Regions from separate parts of the Homo sapiens genome. Here region 1 is linked to region 2. The links are contacts of gene promoters, found by promoter capture Hi-C in blood cells and fetal thymus (Javierre and others, 2016). All regions are on one chromosome and are shown on one strand. Each heading gives the region's core, a stretch centred on a gene start or on the middle of the fragment in contact. The rest is flanking DNA. Distances are from core to core; before and after follow the strand shown.

Region 1 (6,605 bases), core at 3,799-6,298, 250 kb after region 2:
TGCAGTGGTGTAATCATGGCTCACTGCAGCCTCAACCACCAATCCTCCTGCCTCAGCCTCCCAAGTAACTAGAACTACAGGTGTGTGCCACCACATCTAGCTGATTTATTTTTTGTAGAGACAGGGTCTCGCTATGTTGCTCAGGCTTATCTTGAACTCTTGGCCTCAAGCAATCCTCCTGCCTCAATTCCCAAAGTACTGGGTTACAGATGTGAGCCACCATGCCCAGCCAAAACCATAAAGATTTTTATTATGACTTGCAAGGAGCAAAGACTATGTGTTTCAGTCAGCTATTGCTCCATTAAAACACACACACACACACACACACACACACAAATGCTTAAAAACATACAATAAGCATCTGTGTGTGTCAGTTGAAGGTCAATAGTTCTAGGCCAAATTATATGAATGGCTGTACCTTAAGATGTAAGTACACTTCAGCTTACCTGCTTTGCGCTTCACAGTAGGAACTCTAGTTAGTTCAAAGCATGTTCTTTCTGGGGCCAAGGGTGAAAAGACAGCAGCTACCCAAGGGAAAATTTTTCTCATGAAGATGGCAGAGGTGCATATGGACACCCAACTATGCAGGCATATTCAAAGGCCCTAATTGACTCATGCCTGCTAACTACACATTGACCAAAGTCATTGTCATGCCCAAGGCCAAAGTCAAAGTGATATGGAAATATACCACATGTCTTTGGGAGGAATTGCAGAGTTGTTAGGCAAAGGGCTTAGATATGGAAAGAAATGAAGAATTTACCAAAACTTACAAATTAACCTATATCTTGAGGAAGAGAAAAACAGCCCCAGTAGCCAGAACATTAACAGCTAGGACTTGGAGTTGCTGGGAGCTGGCCTGGCTCTCACAGCAAAGCTCTGGTCAACTCCTATTGGATATAACCAATCTCAAAAAACACCAACAGGCAAGGACACTTTGTGGCCATTATGACTTGAGATAAAACAACACAATTCATAATCATGGTGAGTAAAAATAAAAAACAAGGACATCGTCAAATAACAAAAGTAACCAAACATCTCCTCCTTTCTGGCTAATATGTCTACTGCTTCTTTACCAGTTATAGTGAGAATCCTGCTTTATCCTCTTGGTTTGTTTGTTTGTTTGTTTTTGAGACAGAATCTCACTCTGTCACCCAGGCCAGAGTGCAGTGACACAATCGAGAGTCACTGCAACTTCCTTGATTCAAGCGATCTAGGCTCACCCACCTCCTAGGTTCAAGCAATTCTTGTGCCTCAGCCTCCTGAGTAGCTGGAATTACAGGCATGTGCCACCAAAACCCAGCTAATTTTTGTATTTTTAGTAGAGACGGAGTTTCACCATGCAGGCTCAAACCCTGACCTCATGTGTCTGCCCGCCTCTGCCTCCCAAAGTGCTGGGATTACAGGCATGAGCCACCACACCCAGCCTATTCTCTCACTTTCTAGATAAAAATTATTAGGATATACAATCACAAAATTACGGTCAGCTAATGGTTCACCATGGCATTTTGTCTCCCTCTTTGCAACAAACCAACAAATCCAATTTTGCTTGTCTACAGGTGTGTCTCTGGTGGTCTTTGTCAGGAATTTACCAACAGTCTTGAATTCTGAAACATTAAACATCACAGACATAGAGGCAGCTAACTTTTATGTAACACCTCCCCTTTGTCCACCACTAAACCAGATTAAGGGGAGATGTGTTAAACGTGGAAGACAACAGAGCCTCTGATAAACCACATGAATAAAAAAAAAAAAAGAAAGATTTTTTTTTAAGTTGAAAAGTTTTGCATGGCATAAGCATAACCAATTTTTCATGTTTTTTGTTTAGATATGGGATGTTTAGATATGGGCCAAATGGCAGTTTCAAATATTTATTTAGCAAGTTTAGCAGTCTTTTTTGTGTGTGATTTTTATATAACATAAATTTTAATGGTCCTGTGGGCTTCATTATTTAGGAATGACATAGCATATGTAACCAATTCCTTTTTTCTTTCTTTCTCTCTCTCTCTTTTGTTTTTGTTTTTGTTTTTGTTTTTGTTTTAATGCGGGGAGGTTGGGGTTGTGGGGGGGTGGCGGTCTTGATATATTGCTCAGGTTGGTCTCGAACTCCTGGACTCAAGTGATCCTCCAGTCTCAACCTTCCAAAGTGCAAGGATTGCAGGCGTGTGCCACTGCGCCAGGCCCAATTCCTTATGATTACACATTCATGATGAAAACTGCCGAAACAGCGAAACCAAAACTAAGAAGGAAGTGAGGACAGTGATGGTTCTTAACCCGGGAGACCCAAGGCACTTGCAAAACGACCACTAGACTCCACCCCTCTAAAGATTTCGATTTAACTGGTTCTAGGGGAGAGGAGGAGACACGAGCATTTTGAGAAATCTCCCCAGTTATGTATAATTAACAACCACCGGATCACAGCTAGATAAGGAGAAATGCTAGGCGCTACTCAGGGGGTTAAGCAAAAAATCAGAGGGTCGGAAATCAGTTTTCAACTACAAGAGTCTTGCGGATCTGGAGCAGCGGTGGATACACCTCTGCCTGCGCGGAGGGAGCGGAGCTAAAATACTGTAATTTTTCGGACCTTTATAAAATAGAATCAGTAATCATGTTACCAACAGAAGGTTGTTAGTGCCAGCACACGTTAGTGTGCTAATACATACTGAAGAATACCTCTCTTAAAGGGAGCTAAAAACACCTAATTCTCAGTGAGCAAACGGGGAGGTATAGCAGACGATACCTTACTGAGGGGAAACCTTTAAAAAAGCCCAGTTAGCAGGGAAAGCCGAGCGACGAGGATGGGATTCGAACCCACGCGTGCAGAGCACAATGGATTAGCAGTCCATCGCCTTAACCACTCGGCCAGGCCTCTCCTGATATGTGTAATGTTTCTCTTCTCAACAGTTTCATTTGGCAATTCCTATTCTTTTGTTAAATGTTTTCAGTGACGGAAATAATGGATAAATGGCCCTCTTACTCTCATAAAGGAAGAAAAACTAAAGAGGAGACTGGGAGGGAGGAATAGACCCTAATAAAGATGACAAAGTACACTTTCTAAGGGAAAAATAAGAGAAATTAAAAAGGAAAAACGAATTAGTGACTGCTCCTGTTTTTTAAATCAAATTGGATTTTGTCTTTTTTCTTAGGTCATGTATATGAACACCATCATTAAACCAGGTATGTCTGTTGTTGCATTCCTGGACACTCCCTGGTAGGATTCCCAGAGGGATGCCTGCCATATGATGGCACTAACGCATCTGAGAAATAACCATTGTCTCTCCTAGAAGCCCAAGTGGGTGACTGGTAAAGTGTTGAAGTGATGGGTTACAGTCAAATTGTGATTGGTTCTGAGTGTCAGACCCTAGAGTTTGGACTGTATCTTAAAGAATCGTGGGGCCATCTGAGGGATTTTTGTTTTGTTTTTGCTTATTTTGCACAAAGAAATGTGATGAAAATGATACTTAGTGTTGTCATTTTTATTATCTGTTTGTATTTCATTTAAATTCTAAATTAAAAAAATAAATTTATTTTTATAGAGACAGGGTCTCACTATGTCACTCTGTTGCACAGGCTAGCCTCAAACTCCTAGGCTCAAGCAATCCACCCACCTTGGTTTACCCAAAGTACTGGGATTACAGGCATGAGCCACCATGTCCAACCTTTCTTTGGTTGTTTCTGACTCATTTCATCACAATCAGAGAAGTCAGTCTGATGCTAATGTTCTGTGAAATTAGGCAAAACAGAAGAACCCCATGACTTAGCAGTGACTGCCTGGCCGATTCCTGACAATATGCAGGCCTAGTGAATACGGTCAGACCAGTTCCTGGATACCAGGGGCTGTTTTCTCACCTATACCCAATAAAATTACAAAAACAATAATATTGTGTATGTGTGTGTTTTGACATGATGTAGCATTAAAAAAATAAGGCCGGGCACAGTGGCTCACACCTGTAATCCCAGCACTTTGGGAGGCCAAGGCTGGAGGATCGCTTAGGCAACATGACGAAACCCCGACTCCACAAAATATACAAAAAATTAACCGAGTGTGGTGGCTGGTGCCTGTAGTCCCAGCTACTTGGAAGGCTGTGTTGAGAGGATCAGCTGAGCCTGGGAGGGCGAGGCTGCATCAAGCCATAATCACACTACTGCACTCCAGCCTGGGTAACAGAGTGACAGAGTAAGACCCTGTCTCAAAAGCAAAGCAAAGCAAAGCAAAGCAATTAAGAATATGATCAAGATTCAAACTGTATCCCCTAGGGAGTTACCAAGGAATTACCTAACAAATATCAGACATATTAGGTATCAAATCACCATCAAAACATAGCAGGCCAGGAAATGTACGAATTTTCATTTTTTTAAAGCTTCAGTTAGCAACAAATTCTAAAGTGTTCTGAAAAGAAAAACTATTGCTTGGTCTTGATTGTGTTTGGATTAGAAATTATAAAGCATGATAAACAAACCTGGACCTGAAGGGTTCATTAGTTCTTTGATTCATTCAATGTTTTGATGAATATTTATTGAGCATTGCGTATGTTCCAGGCATTGTTCTAAGAACAAATGTATATGCCACACACAAAATTCCCTGCCCTGGTGAAACCTAATTATGTAGAAATAAGCAATAAACAACTTATAAAGCAAAATATAGGCCAAGCACAGTGGCTCACACCTATAATCATAGCACTTTGGAAAGCCAAGGCAGGCAGATTCCTTGAACTCAGGAGTTTGAGACCAGCCTAGGCAACATGGTGAAACCTCATCTCTACAAAAAATACCAAAATTAGCTGGGCGTGGCGGTGCACATCTGTAGTCCCAGCTACTCAGGAGGCTGAGGAGGGAGGATCGCTTGAACCCAGGAGGTCGAAGTTCAGTGAGCCAAGATTGCACCACTGCACTCCAGCCTGGATGGCAAAGTGAGACCTTGTCTCACCAAAAAAAAAAAAGCAAAATACACAGTATGTCAGAGGATGGTATATGCATAGGAGTGGTGGCAAGTTAAATAGGGTGGTCAGGGGAAAATTAGCTCAGTGGTTTTCCATGCTGCACATTTGAATCCATAGGGAACTTTTGAGAAGGATTCATGTCAGGGCATTATCCCTATAGATTCTAATTCACTTGTTCAGTCATGATATTAAAAGAGAGTAGCAGTCAAGCTCTTCAATACTGGCTTGATCATAAAGGAAGATACACAATGGAAAACTAGTTTTAAAAAGGTGAGGCAAGAGATAATTTTCCCAATCCAAAAGGTACCAGGAATTGCTCCCAATACAGCACTTCCTGACCAAGCAAAAGAAGGTGTCTGCAAAATATCAGTCATAGCATTAGACCAGCTCCAATTAGGGCTTATTCTGCCCTGAGGTCTTTACAGTGTTTAACAGTGTGGTGGCCACACTTCCTGTGTAAACTCCTCCCTTTGAATGTTGGCTGGATCTAGTGACCTGCTCCTAACCTACAGAATATAAAAAATGTGATAGGATATTACTTTCATGATATCTCATGTGAGATATGTGTCTGTTGTTTTAAGCTGCCAATTTGGGTGCAATTTGTTATACAACAGATAACTAATACATGCAGGAAGGCCTGATCAGCCAGAGAGCAGTGGATCCTATGGCTGAAAGGGAGTATAGTTGAGAATGTAAAAATACAAGACATCATTGCCATAAATTTGCCAAGTCTGAGTTCAGATGCTAATCATTACATCATAGACCCTTTCCATAAGATTCTCCTATTGAAAGACTTGTGTATAAGCTTGGTGTAAATCTATACATTATCTTTTTTAAAAAAGCCATGACCAATAGATTAAATCTAAAGAGCATTAACAAATGCCTGCTATTTATTAATAAAGGGTATGGTAGGCTAAATAATGACCCCCAAAATAGGTCCACAACCAATCACCAGAACCTGTGAATAAGTTACCTTATGTTACCTTAAGTGGTCAAAGGAATTTTGCAGATGGGATTTCATTGAAGATTTTGAGATGGGGAGATTATCTTGGATTATCTAAGTGGGTCCAATGTAATCAAGAGGGTCCTATAAAAGGAAGGCAGGAGGTTCAGAGTCAGGAAAAGAAAATGTGACTACAGAAGCAAGAAGTGATGCAAGGAAGGGGCCACTAGAAGCTGAAAACGCCAGGAAAATGAATTATCTCATGATGTCTCCAGAAGATACACAGCCCTGCTAATACTTTTATTGTAGACTTCTGATATCCAAAACTGCAAAAAAACATTTAATTCACGTTGTCTTAGCCAGGGATGGTGGTGTGCACCTGCAGTCCTAGCTACTTGGGAGGCTGACAGGGAACGATTACTTGAACCCAGGAGTTTGAGGCTGCAATGAGCTATGATTGTGCCACTACAGTCCAGCCTGAGTGATAGTGTAAGACCCTATTTTAAAAAATAAATAGGCCGGATGCGGTGGCTCACGCCTGTAACCCCAGCACTTTGGGAGGTTGAGGCGGTCAGATCAAGGTCAGGAGGTCGAGACAAGCCTGGCCAACATAGTGAAACCCCGTCCCTACTAAAAGTACAAAAAATTAGCCGGGCTTTGTGGCGGGTGCCTGTAATCCCAGCTACTCAGGAGGCTGAGGCAGGAGAATGTCTTGAACCCGGGAG
Region 2 (6,717 bases), core at 4,027-6,526:
TTACTCAGGAGGCTGAGGCAGGAGAATTGCTTGAACCGGGGAAGTGGAGGCTGCAGTGAACCAAGATCACGCCATTGCACTCCAACCTGGGTGACAGAGAGAGACTATGTCTCAAAATAAATAAATAAATAAATAAAAAACAGAAAGTTTGGAATAATGCATTACAAGTAGCCTCTAGTTTTTATGTTACTCATAGTTTTATCACACAAGAACAATGTCATAAATTTTCATGGTTGAATTATCAGTTGTTTATGCAATATTCATTGATGTTTTTGGCTTATCAGCAGTGTTTCTGGAATTATTTGAATATTATTACCGTTTTTCAAAATTATTTTATAAAACTAATTTAAAAATCAAAAATGATATAATTACTAATGTGAAATTAAATATAAGTTTTGAAGAATATCAGGATGTCACCCCCAAATTATTCTACTTTGGCATAAAAGTTATTTTCAGCTGAAGGCAATTGAAAATCAACAGGTGTAGGAAGAGGTCTCTGTCTTCTCTTTACCCAAATTTCCCTTTGTGAAGGTGACAGAAATTTCCCTTGTAAAAGTGTCCCCAACTGCTATACCAGGAAAAAGAGAGCAATTCTTATCACTAGATATGGAAGGTTGGCACTGAGATGACTCTGCAAAAACAAACCTTACTACAATTATTTCTATCTTTCATTTTATCTTCCATGGTTTTTATTGCCCATGTATTTATTTCCTTGTCACATTCCCAAATTCGTCATCCCATGAAGTGCAAACTCCCTTTCCTTTGTTGGAATGGTGTATAAGTCTGTGAGTCTAACCGCGTTTTTAAGGTTTCAATTTTTTTTTCTTTGGGAACTCTGTGCATGTAATATACTAATAAAATTGCATGCTCTTTTTTTCGCATGTTAATCTGTCCTTTGTCAGTTAAATTTGCAAGACACTACTTAGTGAATCTAAGAGTACAGAAAAACATGTGTCCTCATTGACAGTTTCAAAAACTAAGTAAAATTGAGGCAAGAATCTTTTTCATCTTAAAATGGCCAATTTTAATTTCCAAATGAATGGTTCATTAGACCTAAGCCAGTAAGCTATGTGAACAATTGTGATGGAATAAAACAAAACTAAAGAGCATGAACAAAATTGAGAAAACATATGCAAGACTGAATCTAAAGGCCAAATAGAATTGAAAATTTTTCTAATTTTTAACTCTATAAATTAAAGGAATGTGTTTCATTTGACGAGTTTCATCTGTGGAAACATGTTTGCAGAAGACATTCGAGGTTAGGATTAATTGAAAGTACATAAATCAAATGGATTAAGACCCCAAAGGGCATTGAAGGAAAATTAGAAAATCAGCTATTTTTGCTTGGGTTGATTCCTCTCCTGACTAACTCTTGGAGATGATAAGAACATCAATTAAATGGGTAGCCATGAAAGTATCTAAGGGAGAAAGGAACACAGAAGTTCAATGTACCATAACTTTATTTTTATTTATTTAGTTTTTTGAGAGAGAGTCTGGCTCTGTCGCCCAGATGGAGTGCAGTGGCGTCATCTTAACTCACTGCAACCTCTGCCTCCTGGGTTCAAGTGATTCTCCTGTCTCAGCCTCCCGAGTAGCTAGGATTACAGGTGTGTGACACCACGCCCAGCTAATTTATTGTGTGTTTTCATGGCCAGGCTGTATTTTCATGGCCAGGCTGGTCCTGAACTCCTGACCTCAGGTAATCTGCCTGACTCAGCCTCCCAAAGTGCTGGAATTACAGGCGTGAGCCACTGCTTCCGGCTTTTTTTTTTTATGACGGAGTCTCGCTGTGTCACCCAGGCTGGAGTGCAAGGTCTCGCCTCACTGCAACCTCCGCCTCCCAGGTTCAAGCAATTCTCTGCCTCAGCCTCCCGAGTAGCCGGGATTACAGGCGCCTGCCACCATGGTTGGCTAATTTTTATACTTTTAGTAGAGACGGGATTTCACCATCTTGGCGAGGCTGGTCTTGAACTCCTGACCTCGTGATCCACCCGCCTAGGCCTCCCAAAGAGCTGGGATTATAGGCGTGAGCCACCGCGCCCAGCCTTTTTTTTTTTTTTAATTGTTTGATGTTGAGATGGAGAAACAGGAGGAGGTGGAAGAGATCTTAATATACATATGGAAAAATAAAAAATGGAATAACCAGGAAAATTCTGAAAAAGAAGAGTAATGAGAGAAAATTAGCTCTATCTGCTATTAAAGTCACGTTACAACATCTCAGTTAATTAGTCTCCCAAAGGGGAGACTAATGTAAATGCATGTTTAATAAACTGCACCCCCAGTGGATGCCTGAAACCACAGATAGTACTGAACCGTATATACACTGTTTTTTTCTATATACACATGGCAATGATGAATTTAATTTATAAATCAGGCACTGTAAGAGATTAGCAATAACTGATAATAAAACAACAATTATAACAATATACTGTAATAAAAATGATTTGAGTCTGTGAACGGTGGTTCACGCCTGTAATCTAAGCACTTTGGCAGGATGAGGTGGGCGGATAACCTGAGGTCAGGAGTTCGAGACCAGCCTGGCCAACTTAGTGAAACCCCGTCTCTACTAAAAATACAAAAATTAGCCGGGCATGGTGGCAGGCCCCTGTAATCTCAGCTACTCGGGAGGCGGAGGCAGGAGAATCGCTTGAACCCGTGAGGCGGAGGTTGCAGTGAGCCGAGAACGTGCCACAGCACTCCAGCCTGGGTGACAGAGGGAAACTCCGTCTCATAAATAAATAAATAAATATAAATATAAATTATATGACTGTGATCTCTCTCAAAATAGCTTACCGTTTTACTTGTGATGATGTGAGATGACAGAATGCCAGTAATGAGATAAAGTGAGGTGAATGGAGTAGGCATTGTGAAGTAGCATTAGGCTTGATAAGATACTACAGATTTAGGTATTAGTTGAACACTTGCCATTTGTCACATAATCATCTCAGCATTGAGGATAGCACACAACACAATGTTTAAAACAATACAATTCTACCTTAAGAATTGTGGGAATGACTAAAGGAACAAAATAGAAACCTGAGAAACCTAAGACAGTCCAACTGTCCATGAAATTATAGCGTATTAGCCTATGACAAAACAGCCAAAATTGATAGGAGCGTGGAGGGTGGCACGGGAGGAAGAAGGGGGAAGCAGAAATGAAAGTTCATAAATGGTCTTGGGAAAAATATGTCCATATGTTAAACCTTACACCAAAATAGAGGGTTCACCATGTTAAACCGTGTTGTAATGTAAAATTAACAACACAAAATTACTTAAACCATGGGAGAATGTTTTCTCCTTCTTCCCTGCCTCTGTCTTCCTGTCTCTCTGCTTGCCTCCCTCCCCTTTCTCTTTCTTGGGATGAATCCGTGGTCACTATCACTAACAAATCAACTCACTATATTAATCATTGTGGAGATGGTAGAATAATTGAGCAGCTTATCTCCAGAAGCCCCAGTCCCCATAATTTAGGTCTCACCAAAATGTGCCCACCAGATTTTAAAAGAAGCGAATATAAGACGCTAGGCTTTCTGTATTCAGAAGCACCATGGATGTCAAACAGAGGGAACCATTAACGAAGGCCTTTATTAGAAATGTCTCCCATTTATCCATACACTCTTCATAGTTAATAGTACAAATACTGTTTTCTGCATAGAAACATTTGGACTGCCAAACAAAATACGTTTAAAGGAACTTCGATTTTTAAATGTTGCTGTCTGTCTAAACAGGATAAGCAACCGTAGTCATGCGAGGACAAAATGGCTGGCTAAAAGTTGTGCTTTCGATACGCTCAAAATCGATACGCTCAAACCTGTCAGTTTAGCGGAAGGCTACATGTTATGTGGCACAAAAAACTCCCTAGGTCCACGATTGCCTTGGGTGGAGGAAGGGCTATTGCCGCTGTTGTGGCTGTTTTTTAAATGCATTCCTTCGTTGCCACAGGAATGAGAAATTAACAGCAGAGGAATGTAGGACAAAGGTACCTGCACGCACTCTCCTCCCAGGGCTGGATGTTGCCACTACCTCCAGGAGACATCAACTTGACTACCAACAACATGGAAAGCGTCCGAAATCCCAGACATTAATATAAAGAGAAAAGAGGCAAAACTTTTAAGTCACAGTAAAGCAAAAAACACAGAATAAGCAACGTCTTCCACCATCCAATTAAATACAGAATGAAAGTCATGTACTAGAAGAACGGACCAACCCGGGAGCAGGGCGGGACTTTTGAAAATTTTTTAGTCCAATCCGGACATCCCTTTAGACTAAGAAACTGGCTCTTGTTTTGCGGTCTTTTCTGCCGTTCACAGGCCTGGGGCGGGACTGCCATCCCAAAACCATCCGCCAGCGAGAAAAGCCTCCGGTCAGGGACCTAGAAGCCGCAATAAAGGTTTAAATGCTGTAACCTCACCACGGCCACTCTCCAACCCCGTCACCCAATTCGTCTGATACCTCAGTAACTCCCATACGACTAACCTTAAGTAACAGGGCAGAACAAGAAAAGGCAGATAGTAAAGAAATTATCCAGCTCTTTTATTGAGATCAGTGGTGGCTCTGAAAAGAGCCTTTTGGGTTTTAGAAGTAGGCGTTCGCCTATTTCTTCTTGGGCGCCGCCTTCTTAGGCTTGACAACCTTGGGCTTAGCGGCCTTGGGCTTCACAGCCTTAGCAGCACTTTTGGCAGCTTTCTTGGGCTTCGCAACCTTGGCCTTCTTTGGGCTCTTAGCCACTTTCTTGGTTACAGTGGCCGCGGCCGGCTTCTTCGCTTTCTTCGGTGTTTTCTTAGCGCTCTTCTTCGGAGTTGCGCCGCCAGCCGCCTTCTTGGGCTTCTTGGCTGCCCCAACTGGCTTCTTAGGTTTGGTTCCGCCCGCCTTTTTAACCTTGGGCTTGGCTTCCCCGGAGGCTGCCTTCTTGTTGAGTTTAAAGGAGCCAGAAGCACCGGTGCCTTTCGTTTGCACCAGAGTGCCCTTGCTCACCAGGCTCTTGAGACCAAGTTTGATACGGCTGTTGTTTTTCTCCACATCATAGCCGGCGGCAGCCAACGCTTTTTTCAGAGCAGCCAGAGAAACTCCGCTACGCTCTTTAGAGGCGGCCACAGCCTTGGTGATGAGCTCTGACACCGGGGGACCAGACGCCTTACGAGGCGTACCCCCAGCCTTTTTGGCCGCCTTCTTCTTTACAGGGGCCTTCTCCGCAGGAGGCGCGGCAGCGGGAGCGGCAGGAGCAGTCTCGGACATGTTGAGAATCAAAAACTCGGGTACAAGTGGCAAAGCGCCGATGAAGCAGCGCCTGGGCAGGGCCGCTGTATATATAGAGCGCAGGCGCGCTCTGATTGGTGCTCTGGTCGCCCGCCTGGCTGGCAGGCTCTGAGCCGCTGCGCTGCTCCCAAGTTGTGTTTGTTCCACCTCACAAAAGGGGAAAAATATTAAAATTCCCCGCACCAAATCACTTGGGTTTGGTCAGGAAAGGATCTCAGAAGCCTCGGGCTTCATGCTCTTCATTTATTTTTTCCACAAACACAAAAACAACGCGTCCAGGCGTCCCCAATTCCCCCAACTCCGAAGGAAGTCTGGGGCAGTCAGAGACCACTTTCTGTTTTTCTTATAAATTACCTGTTCGCTCCTTTGCCCCTGAAGGTTCTTTTTCCCAGGGGTGGTTGGGCACATGCTTCCCTTATTTTTGAAGAAAAAAGCGAAATGGTTTCCACCTAAATTTTCATGATAATTCTGTTTCTTCACAAGGGAAGTAACACAGGTCCTCTGTGAATTCTTCGTGCAGTCGCACAGGAACTGTGGACTGGGACAAGGATTCCACGGCCAGTCCAAAGCAATTAGGGCGGGATGGGAGGGGGTTCATGAGCCTTGCTAGGGTCCGGGGTGGTGGGGGGCTACAGACTTAAATCTTTGATTTGAAGACATTGAAACTATCAAATCCCTCTTTTCATAGATGGGGGTGGGGCATCCTTTTCACTTCTCTACAGGCGAGAAATTGGGCTCTTTTTAAAGAGCTCTGAGGTCCCCCTCTGAGTTGTGTAAGGCAGGAGGTCTGGCCCTCAAGATAGAGATCATAAAGGAACAAGGGAGAGCCCTTAAGCCTGCAAAAAAGCCAATAGATTTGGCAGTTAGAGGCACTGAGATAATATGTTTTCAAAGAAAACAAGCATTTTTTATTTATTTATTTTTGTACGCTGCAATATAGAAATGAATTTCAGCCCATGAAAATTGTAGGTTACTTTCAGTAACCATACCTTACGCAAGTTACCATATAGGACAATCTCCAGTTGGGAACTCAAATATATCTTTTGAGTTGCAAATAAAGCAACTGACTTTAATAAAACACACTCTTGACTTTTAAGATGAACAATGTATTTGAAATTTATTTTTTTAAATAGCAAAATTTAACACAGAAAGACAAGAAAAGTACCAGAACATGTAATTTATTATAAGATCTGTTGTTGATGAGCTGAAAAATCACCTCTTCTCATCCCCTCTGAAACTATTCTGTTCTAAAGTTTGCTACTTTAAGGTTCACTACTTCTTATTTTACTCTCCGACCCCAAGTAATTGCTATTTTTTTCTTGAGATTAAAGGCAAAGTAAATTGTCTGCCCATATATTTGATATAATTATAGATTCATATTTAGGGACAAAGGTAATATTACAACTCCCCAACAATTTCTGCTCAAATATATGTTTTCATGAAAATATGTGTTAAAGAGAA

The links. The method cuts DNA at HindIII sites, captures the fragments that hold promoters and counts their contacts. A CHiCAGO score of 5 or more calls a contact.
Region 1: a fragment that was not itself captured here is called in contact with the fragment with the promoter of H1-2 in region 2 in 2 of 17 cell types (monocytes and neutrophils); the score reaches 6.4 in monocytes.

Annotation. Positions count from the first base shown.
Region 1 is chr6:26,302,703-26,309,307 of GRCh38, forward strand. It overlaps TRS-GCT6-1 (tRNA-Ser (anticodon GCT) 6-1), which reads right to left and starts at 2,871; the gene lies at 2,788-2,871. RefSeq lists an enhancer at 2,294-2,613 and a silencer at 2,694-2,883. The HindIII fragment of the contact is 1,384 bases long and covers 4,357-5,740 here.
Region 2 is chr6:26,051,194-26,057,910 of GRCh38, forward strand. H1-2 (H1.2 linker histone, cluster member) reads right to left here and starts at 5,277. Exons shown (of 1, transcript NM_005319.4): 1 at 4,547-5,277. The coding sequence starts at 5,235. The coding sequence ends at 4,594. RefSeq lists silencers at 1,944-2,117, 4,230-4,299 and enhancers at 2,516-3,137, 3,758-4,379, 4,790-4,839, 4,930-5,329. The HindIII fragment of the contact is 9,556 bases long and covers 1-6,717 here.